Linked DNA regions of Homo sapiens: region 1 is linked to region 2. The links are contacts of gene promoters, found by promoter capture Hi-C in human tissues and cell types (Jung and others, 2019). All regions are on one chromosome and are shown on one strand. The core of a region is centred on a gene start or on the middle of the fragment in contact, and the rest is flanking DNA. Distances in the headings are between cores, read along the strand shown. Region 1 overlaps CR1L (complement C3b/C4b receptor 1 like). Region 2 holds the start of YOD1 (YOD1 deubiquitinase).

The links. Contacts are between HindIII fragments. The study calls those that stand out against the background at their distance.
Region 1: a contact is called between a fragment that was not itself captured here and the fragment with the promoter of YOD1 in region 2, in 1 of the 25 tissues and cell types used here (hippocampus).

Annotation. Positions count from the first base shown.
Region 1 is chr1:207,668,622-207,673,657 of GRCh38, reverse strand. All of the region lies in intron 1 of CR1L (complement C3b/C4b receptor 1 like), which reads right to left. Among named protein-coding and RNA genes, the nearest start is that of CR1L, 26 kb to the right of the region's middle. The HindIII fragment of the contact is 6,387 bases long and covers 1-5,036 here.
Region 2 is chr1:207,048,162-207,053,315 of GRCh38, reverse strand. It overlaps YOD1 (YOD1 deubiquitinase), which reads left to right and starts at 2,108. Exons shown (of 2, transcript NM_018566.4): 1 at 2,108-2,628; 2 at 3,593-5,154. The coding sequence starts at 2,286. The coding sequence ends at 4,296. It overlaps PFKFB2 (6-phosphofructo-2-kinase/fructose-2,6-biphosphatase 2), which reads right to left and starts at 41. Exons shown (of 15, transcript NM_006212.2): 1 at 1-41. RefSeq lists enhancers at 111-750, 1,974-2,544. The HindIII fragment of the contact is 3,829 bases long and covers 1,887-5,154 here.

The DNA of each region.
Region 1 (5,036 bases), core at 1,920-4,419, 620 kb before region 2:
AATCTTTTCCATTTTAGCCATTCTAGTGGGTATATTTTGTTATCTCATTTCGGGTTTTTTCTTGTATGACTCAGCCCAATTTCATGCACTCCTGGTTCAGATCTTCCATTCAAAGCAAGCTGATTTATTCTGTGCTATACGCACAATTAACACATCATCACTTTCATGTCTGCGCAAATATGAGCTGTCAACCCGAAGTACACTCTGCTTTCCATTCTGCATACTTACCCTTTAAGGAACAGACTTGCACTTGCTTTGCTTAGGCATGTCTGTCAGCTTAAAAAAAGAGCATGCACTTTCAAAAATATAAAGTAATAAATTATATATGTACACAAATATAAATTATATGCCTAAATATAAATTTTTGAAATGTAAAACAGATAAAATAAACATTTTAAATGCTCTGTTAATCATGATCACTTAACACAATCATTAGTTGACATCTAAGGGGACAAAAAACAGCCACAGTGAGTTCCTCTGGTCACAATAGTGAATGTAAAGCTGTATTTCAACTGTCTTCATGATACTTTCTAGATTTTTTGGTTTCATCAAGTTGTGATCAGTTGTGATTAGATTGACAGCATTTGTTTCTCTTAATGTCTCTGACAAAAGAAATTTGTATACATGTGTCTTTGCAGGGAGGGTGAGAGGGATTGTCAACTCTGCCATTTTCTTGTTTTCTGGAGTTCGTCTTATTAAGTGATCTTCACCCAGTATTTCTGTGTAGGACAGTTTTGATGTTGCCTGTCCGAATGTGAAGTTTATTTTAGATAACAGTAGATAATATAAATCATACATCTACTCATCCGAGCATATGTAAACCAGAATACATCACAAAGCACAGAAAGCAAATTGGAATTACCCTTCTTTCTATCTTGCACCTTTACCTAGCAGGGAAAACCAAATCAGATCCTACATGAGGACCATGTGAGGGCGCCAGAGTCTACCCTATGTTAAACACTCCCTGGTAAAGCTTAATTAGCATACTATTTTTATGGCTCACAATGTGGTCTATCCCCATGAATGTGAGCCAGAGAATGTCTTTTGCTGTTGTTGGATGAAGTCGTCTGTATATGTCAATTATATCCAAGTGGATTGATGGTGCTGTTGAGTTCAAGTATGTCCTTATGGATTTTCTGCCTGCTGAATCTGCCCATTTCTGATAAAGAGACTTCAGCACCTTTATCTTTTCTGATATCAGAAAAGATAAAGGTGCTGAAGTCTCCAACTATGATAGTGCATTCATCTATTTCTCCTTGCAGTTCTATCAGCTTTGCCCCACATATTTTGTTTCTCTGTCAGATGGATACATATTAGATATTGTTATGCCTTCTTGGAGAATTAGCCCCTTTATCATTATATGATGACCCTCTTTATTCCTAATAATTTTCCTTCGTCTGAAGTCTGCTGTGTTTGAAATTAACACAGCTACTCCTGCTTTCTGTGACTAGCATTAGCATGGTATATCTTTACCCATTTACTTTTAATATATATTGTCTATATTTAAAATGGTCTTATAGGGAGTACACAATATATAGTTGAGTTTTGTTTGTTGATCGACTCTGATGATCTGTTTCAATTGGTGCCTTTAGATCATTGACACTCAAAATGATGGTTGATATAGTTGGTTTAATATGTTACTTGTTTCTATTTGTTGTCTTTCTTCTCTTGTTCTCTGTTTCTATTTTTTGTCTTGCATTCTTTTCCTGACCTTTATTTTATTTTATTTTTATTTTTGAGACAGAGTCTCACTCTTTCGCCCAGGCTGGAGTGTAGTGGCATGATCTCGGCTCACTGCAACCTCTGCCTCCCAGGTTCAAGAGATTCTCCTGCCTCAGCCTCCTGAGTAGCTGGGATTACAGGCACCCACCATCATGCCCAGCTAATTTTTGGATTTTTGTAGAAATGGGTATTCACCATGTTGGCCAGGCTGGTCTCAAAGTCCTGACCTCAAGTTATCTACCCTGCCTCCTAAAGTGCTGGGATTATAGGTGTGAGCCACTGCGCCTGGCCCCGTTTATTGTTTTAACTGAGCATTTTATATGATGCAATTCACTCTTCCTTACTGGCATATCAATTGTACTTCTTTTTTTCACTTTTTTCAGTAGTTGCCCTAAGTTTGCAATATCTATTTGCAGCTAATCTAAGTTCTCTTTCAAATAGCACCATACCACTTCATGGGTAGTAGGAGTACCCTCTAATGACAAAACAATCCTAGTTCCTCTGTTATTTTTTATATATAAATATTCCCATAAACTGTCCTATGCAACCTGTTTCTGGATTCACTCTTCAAGTGCTAGTAAAGTCATACTCTTTTCCCTCACCCTTTCCTGATCATAGGAGTTGAGATTTCTCCCTTTTCAGTGATCCTGCAGTCTTGCACGACTGCTTAGTCATGGTTTTTCAGACATGCATGAGGGTTTTCAGATTACAAAACGCTGTCACATGCACTACCCCACCTGATTTTCAAAATACCTCTCTCAGAAATCAGGATGTCAGTCATGCTCATTTTATACACGTGGACACTGAAGGTCAGTGATGTGACTTAAGTTGCTGGGTCCACAGCCCCAGTTGGTAAGTAGCAGAGTCTGGAAAAACCAGAACACTGGCTTCCTAAAAAGTAGATTTCATAAAACTCCACCACCTACTTCTATATGCATACACCTTGGGAGCATAGCTCTTTCTCTTACATTTCTTTTAAATTCCAAAGGACTGTGCACACCGGAAGCATCCATAAGCATTTTAAAATTGAAATTACTCCAGCAACAAAATTTCTAGGTAGTTTAGTTTAGGCTGTTTCACATTTGGAGGTTATTGTGAGAACCTCAGTAAGCACTGACAACAGATTGCTTAACTTACTGGGCATGCTTCTCTCCTAAAAATAAAATTGTAAGTTTTATCATATCTCTTCACTAGACAGGTTACTTTCTGGTGCCTAAGGAGATCAAATATTAATAACAACTCTTGGGGGAACTTGGTTTTCTTTTCCCCTTACTCTTTTAGAGAAGAAGGAACACTCAAATAATGAATGCAAAACGTCTAGTGGCAGAGAAGGACGAACCCTGAGTTGTCAGGAAGAGACAGGACCAAAACAACCAAAACTGTCACTTCAAGTGAGATGTTGCCAGTGAGTCTAGGCAACCAAGAAGACTTCTGGGGAGCCCAAAACTAATAATAGAAGGGTTCTAACTGAAGATGTTTACCTACTTGAAGTTAAAAAAAGGAAGAGATGTGGCCTCAAAATTTCCATAGTAGTTATAATAGGCTTTATTTTGTACTAAACACATCACTAAAATGCAAATTGTAAACATATCTACTGTCCCTTCTACCTGCAGCGGTTACATTGCATGTTCTGGGGCTTCCCTTGCTCTTCTAATCCCCAAGTGCCTGGCATGCATCTGTCTTAAAGTATGCTGTCAATCAAGTGCATCATGATGATGGCGGTGGTGGCTTGGGGTAGGGGACGAGGACAGTTCCATGCAGGACATCCCTAGGACTGCTTGTCTAAACACCACTGGGAGCAAAGTGCAGAGGTAACGGTTGGGGGATAGAAATGGACTCGGGGACAGGCCCTGTGTTAGATACTCGACAGGCTTTATGCCACTGAGGCAGCAACTCCACAATGCAGAGATACCAGTGTCCCCATTTTACAGAAGAGCAAACAGACTTAGGTGTGCTAACTTGCCTCACAGTTAAGTTTCTAGGACCAGAACTCAGGTTTGTCGGATCCCCAAGTCCCGTTTCGCTAGGATCGACGCCACGCTCGGCTATAGCCAGCCGAGGCTGTGAATACACAAAGGCAAGGAATTTCGTGCGGCACCCGCTCAGCATCTGCGCCTTCCACTGCGCTCGTCACGACTTAAGCCCCTGCACGTGGGAACTCCACGCTTACCTAGAGGCAGCGAGGGTCTCCAGTGCGCAGAAGGATCCCAGACCCGCCGCCCTGCCAGGTAGCGCGCTCAGCCCACCCATCGCGCTGCCTTTGGACCCGGGCGCGCAGAGCAGCGCAGCCCAGCGCGGCACGCGAGTTCTCTGCGGGGCCCTGGGTGCCTCGTCAGCCCGGGCGCCTCCCCACGCCCCCCAGCGTTTCACCCCAGGCCACCGGCAGCGCGAGCAGCACCACGACCGCCAGCAGGGATCCTCCGCAGCAGAAGGGGAGACCGGGCGCCGGCTGCCCAACAGGCTCCCGGCTTCTCGGAGAAGAGACCCCCATCCTCCCGAAGCACATCTACAAACCAGATTTGATCTCGAAGAAAACTGAAATAAGAGGAAAAGCGCAGTGCAAAGAGGAGTGACCAATCCTTGTGCTCCGCGCCCAGAGCATGGGGAGGGCTGCGGGGTTCCGGGACAAAATGCTTTTGACCAGCTTCCCCTTCATGGGCAAGGCCATGTTTACTCCCCATTTGCATTGTTTCTAACGAGTTTCGCTGGCAGAGCCCACCTTGCTGACCCAGGTGCAGCAGCAGAGCTTGACAATGCTTGGGCTTCCGATGGATCCCGCGTGTGAGGCCCTGCGCTTCCTTCCAGACAAAGGCGGTGGATGATGGCAACTCACCTCCAAACACCCTGCTTGACTTTTCCTCTTTGCAAGAATGTGTGTGGGAAGGTCAGCTAATGAAATGCCTGCTCTCTGTGTTGAAGGGCAATTGCAGGCGATGTGTACAGTGCACAGGGAATGTGAAGAACCAATTTCCTTATCGTGAATTGAGATGTCATGCCATTGTAAGATTTTTAAAAAGGGAAGGACAATTAGATATATATTCAAAAAATGTAAATCTGTGTATAGTATGGAGACTAGATTAAAGCAATAATGGAGAGGGGAGACCAGCCAGGGAGCTTTTGCTGACATCCAAGTGAGGTTTGATGGTGGCCCTGACTGGGTGGATAAAGTGGACAATTAACAAAGATATTGGAGATGGAATGAACAGTTGCTCATGTATTGGATTTTGGTTACTTCCTTTCTTAAGGTTAGTAGTGAGAAGAAAGCAATCAAGAGTTAGCCCCAGGATTAGCAATGAATATGGATGTAGGAGTGA
Region 2 (5,154 bases), core at 859-3,358:
GTAACGCGACCGAACCGAGCCGACAGCTTGTGGCCGGGACCGGCGCTACAGTCGCCGGCAAATCATGTGAGCCCGTCTGGCCCCGCCCCCTCGCGCGTAGGTCCTCACCTGGAGAGAATCATCCACCAATCGGGCGCCTGCAGGACCCAGGGGGCGGGGCAGGGTCGCAATCGCCTAACTGGCTCGGGAAGGCGGCTGGAAGTCGGAACCAGAGAGATCACAAGCTCCTGAGTTTCCCAGCGCCGAGGAGCCTGGTGGCACTGTTGCTTGGTAACTAATAGGGCTGGGGGCGGTGTTAATAAAAAGCTTGACTTTTTTCTGACTCTCGCGAGAGTAGACTATTCGGTAGGCGTCTTGAGAGCGGGTGTGCCGGGTGACGAGAAAATGCTGCAAAGATTAACGCTCTCATTCCTGAATCCCAGCAGAACCTCATTAGATCCATAAATGGGAACGTAAGCTTTAAAGATGTTTTTGCTAGAATAAACTACCACAACACTTGAGCTAATTATGCCTTAGGGTGTATACATACCCGGCTCCACAGGTCAGACGCTGTGACCTAAGAAAATCAACCACTCTCATCGTTGAACCAGAAGCTTCCCTGGACCCACCCATACACCCCATTGGAGTTTTTTTTGTTTTGGTTTGGTTTGGTTTTTGTTTTTTGAGATGGAGTTTTGCTCTTGTTGCCCAGGCTGGAGTGCAATGGCACGACCTTGGCACCGCAACTTTTGCCTCCCGTGTTCAAGCGATTCTCCTGCCTCCCAGTATCTAGAATTAAAGGCATGGACCACCACGCCCAGCTAATTTTGTATTTTTAGTAGAGACGGGGTTTCTCCATATTGATGAGGCTGGTCTCGAACTTCTGACCTCGGGTGATTCACCCGCCTCGGCCTCCCAAAGTGCTGGGATTACAGGTGTGAGCCACTGCGCCCGGCCACCCCGGTGGACTTCTAACCACTCCTACCTTCCCTCCTACCTACCCCCTAACCCAGGCTGTATCATCCGTTGCAGTCGTCTTGAAGAACCAAGGAGGAAAATTGCACCAGCAAAAAAAAATTGAGTCATGAAAGATGTGAAAAGATGGAAACATTACATATAATTTATTCAGAAGCAAAGTCTTTTACAGTGGAGGTGAGTTTGCACCAAGTGAACTACACTTTTCATAGTTGCCCCAGCGGGCCCGTTTGATGCTTGATAAACCCACTCTTGGCAAGTGGGACTTGCTGTCTGAATCCCGGCTGGATAAAGAACAATGAGTATGGATTTCTTGGAAAAGAGAGATATAAATTCAGGGATGTCTTTATTCCTCCTTCGCCTGGGAATTAAACTAATTCTTCCAAAAGTTCAAACAGTTATCTCCTCTTTAAGGCTTTTTACAACTCCCAGAGTGCTCTAGTTGCCCTCTCTATGTCTATACAACTCTGTCTTTATTCATTCAGCCAGTATTTGTTGAACACTTTTTATTTGCGAGGCACAGTCCTGGGTTCTAGGCATACACGTTTGAAAAGGTACAGATAATCTAGCATTATCACGTTGCTTTGAAATTCAGTGGCTGTGTGTCTCACACCCCACCCTGTCTCCCAACTGCAATGAATACTTGTTACAATGAAGGCAGGAATGAAGTCTTCATATTTGTATGCCCAGGAACTGAACTGGAATCTGATGACACGCGTTACACGACTCCTCCTTACACTGCCACCACCTGAATGAGGCAGCTGCCCTGGGCCCAGATGCTGACCTCATACTGTGCTTTCTGAAGTGGCAAATAGACGTTTTCAAGCACAGTCCCAGGGAGGCAGAAAGGCCAGTCTTTTGGCCCCTGGAACCCCAATGAGTCAATGTTTAATGCAGCCACGAGTCTAGTCACAAGTGTGATTGTTTTTGACTGGTCCTTTGACTCACTGACCATTCCTGGCATTCGTTTGCGTTGTGAACTATGATTCTGTTTCTCCTGGTGTAGTCTGGGTGTAGTGTGGAAGCCCCAATTTAATAATTTCCGACCTCACTAAGTGCAAGGTCACATTCCAATCTCCAGACCTTCATTCAGGAACTCCTTCCCCCGCCCTCTTTTCTTGAGCATATATGCTACCCACGCGGAGGGCACCTCACTCGCTCTATAGGTAGCAAGACCCGTTGTCCTTTAGGAATACGGAGGTTTACATCTTCGTTCTGAGGGTGGGGGAAAAATCAGTTGTCACTTTAAAAGAGTTCGCGCTTGCTAAGGTACTAAGGCAGAAGCCGCACCGAAGCGTCGCGATAACTGCAACCACCCGCAACTTCTCGCGATGTTTGGCCCCGCTAAAGGTCGCCATTTTGGAGTCCACCCGGCGCCTGGTTTCCCCGGCGGCGTCTCCCAACAGGCTGCCGGGACCAAAGCTGGCCCCGCGGGTGCCTGGCCTGTGGGCAGCCGGACCGACACGATGTGGCGGCTCCGCTGCAAGGCCAAGGACGGCACCCATGTTTTGCAGGGGCTGTCCAGCCGGACCCGGGTGCGGGAACTCCAGGGCCAAATTGCCGCCATCACCGGGATCGCCCCCGGCGGTCAGCGAATCCTCGTCGGATACCCTCCCGAGTGCCTGGATCTCAGCAATGGGGATACCATTCTGGAAGACTTGCCCATCCAATCTGGTAAGGAATCAGGGCTGGGGCCAGGGAAAGTCCCGGGAGGATGGAGAGGGGCGTGAGAGAGAACAAAACACCAGTCAAGGCAAGGTGGCTGTGAGTCGGCGGGGGGGCTTTGAGGCCAGGGGCGAGGATAGATCAAAGAACAGAGAATGCTGACGGGGGCCAGGGCAAGTGTCTAGCAACTCCTTGTCTTGACACAGGGTTGAAAGGGAACCCAAAGCCTTGAAGACCCCCTTCCCCATTCCGCTTTCTGGTCGGCTTTGAAACTATCCCATTTTGTTTTCCCTCGGCGTCCACAAAAATATAAAGTAGGGCCTATTTTCTCTGTCCTTATGTCTCTTTTTCCCTATATCACCGATGAGATCTCAAGGGTGCAGGATTTTTTTTTTCTTGATTCATTTTTGCAGTCCCCTTCGTAGATACTTCGTTTGACAGGCATACTCATTTTCGAGTTAGCTTTTAAAACACCCACTGAAAGCTCTTTCAATTTCTAACCAGCAGCAGTTATTTCTGTGCCATATCAAAACTTGAACATCAGTGTTTATAATTAAAAGCTTTCAGTTGCTGTATCAAGGATGTTGTAAACACTCTAGAGTAGATAAGTTTCCGGAGAAGGAGAACCCCCTAGCGGCCTACTCTGTAGTGAGCACCTTCTGTAAAATACTGTATAAGGAAAGGAAATTTTGTTTTTGAAATGTATCTTTTTAGGTAAGCTTGAAGTTGTTTACTCCAGACCCCTTCACTAAATTGGGATGCAACCTCAAGTGTTTTTTGTTCTTTTTTCATCTTTATGAAAATTCAGTGAACAAAGATTCTTACTGGTAACTTACTTGCAAAACTGTATTCTCCTTAGTAACCCCAGTTTATGCTTTAACTCCTTCAGTTTGTAATTTACAGACTTGGCTAGAGAACACTCGGTTTCTTCTGTAATTTCTTTGCAGATCGGGATTTGTTTTATTTTTAACAGGTGACATGCTGATCATTGAAGAAGACCAAACCAGGCCCAGAAGTTCACCTGCATTTACTAAACGTGGTGCTTCTAGTTACGTCAGGGAAACTTTGCCTGTGCTTACCAGAACCGTGGTCCCAGCAGACAACTCTTGCCTCTTTACTAGTGTGTACTATGTCGTCGAAGGAGGAGTCTTGAATCCAGCTTGTGCCCCTGAGATGAGACGCCTCATAGCACAAATTGTAGCAAGCGATCCAGACTTCTATAGTGAGGCAATACTGGGAAAAACAAATCAAGAGTACTGTGACTGGATCAAAAGGGATGACACTTGGGGAGGAGCAATAGAGATATCGATTTTGTCCAAGTTTTACCAATGTGAAATATGTGTAGTGGATACACAGACAGTAAGAATTGATCGTTTTGGGGAAGATGCAGGATATACCAAAAGGGTTCTGCTTATTTATGATGGCATCCACTATGATCCACTTCAGCGTAACTTCCCTGATCCAGATACACCTCCTCTGACCATTTTCTCCTCTAATGATGATATTGTTCTTGTACAAGCACTGGAATTAGCAGATGAAGCTAGAAGAAGGAGACAGTTTACTGATGTCAACCGCTTCACCCTGAGATGCATGGTATGTCAGAAAGGATTAACTGGACAAGCAGAAGCAAGGGAACATGCCAAGGAGACAGGCCATACCAACTTTGGAGAAGTGTGACCTATGCATGAATGAGGGTTGAAGCCTACTACCTCACACATCCAGAAGGCTCTGGGTTTTCCAATAAGCTATGGTAACCCTAAAGAACAAAGGATACAATGCTTGAACCATCCTTTTAACTTAAAACCACTAAGACACTGAAATTCCTTGTTAAGATTAAAATTAGTGTGCAAGTTTACAGATGTGTGTCTACAGTGGTAAACTGTACATACATGCCTCTTTCTGCTGGAGTGACAGAATAGGTGATCCTTGCCACCTACTGACACTGACCTGAAGGTTGAGATTGAGTATTATAAACTAGCACCCAGCAGCTTTAACTTGTAGAAGAAAGCATCACATTTTGGGTAATGTGGAAGGCCTCCTGTGAGTCCACTGGGCATACGATTGAGATTGAGTATTATAAACTAGCACCCAGCAGCTTTAACTTGTAGAAGAAAGCATCACATTTTGGGTAATGTGGAAGGCCTCCTGTGAGTCCACTGGACATTTACCACAGTGTCTCCAGTAACTGAGTCTTTTTAAAAACTCTGAATGAGTTAAGTTTCTAAATTATGAATTGATTCATCAAATGAAGATACTCAGAATTGTCCAAACTGATTTTATATTGCAATTTGGTAGACATTATAAATGTGTGCTTAACCACTGATAAGTACATCACAAGCAATTTTTACAGGGATGAGTCTCATCCTTGAGAATGTTATCACAAAACAGGAACTGATTGTGCCCTGTTTAAGATCTCTAGCATATAAAACGTAGAATGTATGAGGGAATAGGTGCCTGAGCAGCTTCCTGAAGCTTTAAAAGACCGTTGGCCTCGTGTTTTAATGCAATTCATGTATTGGTCTTTGTCACATTGGA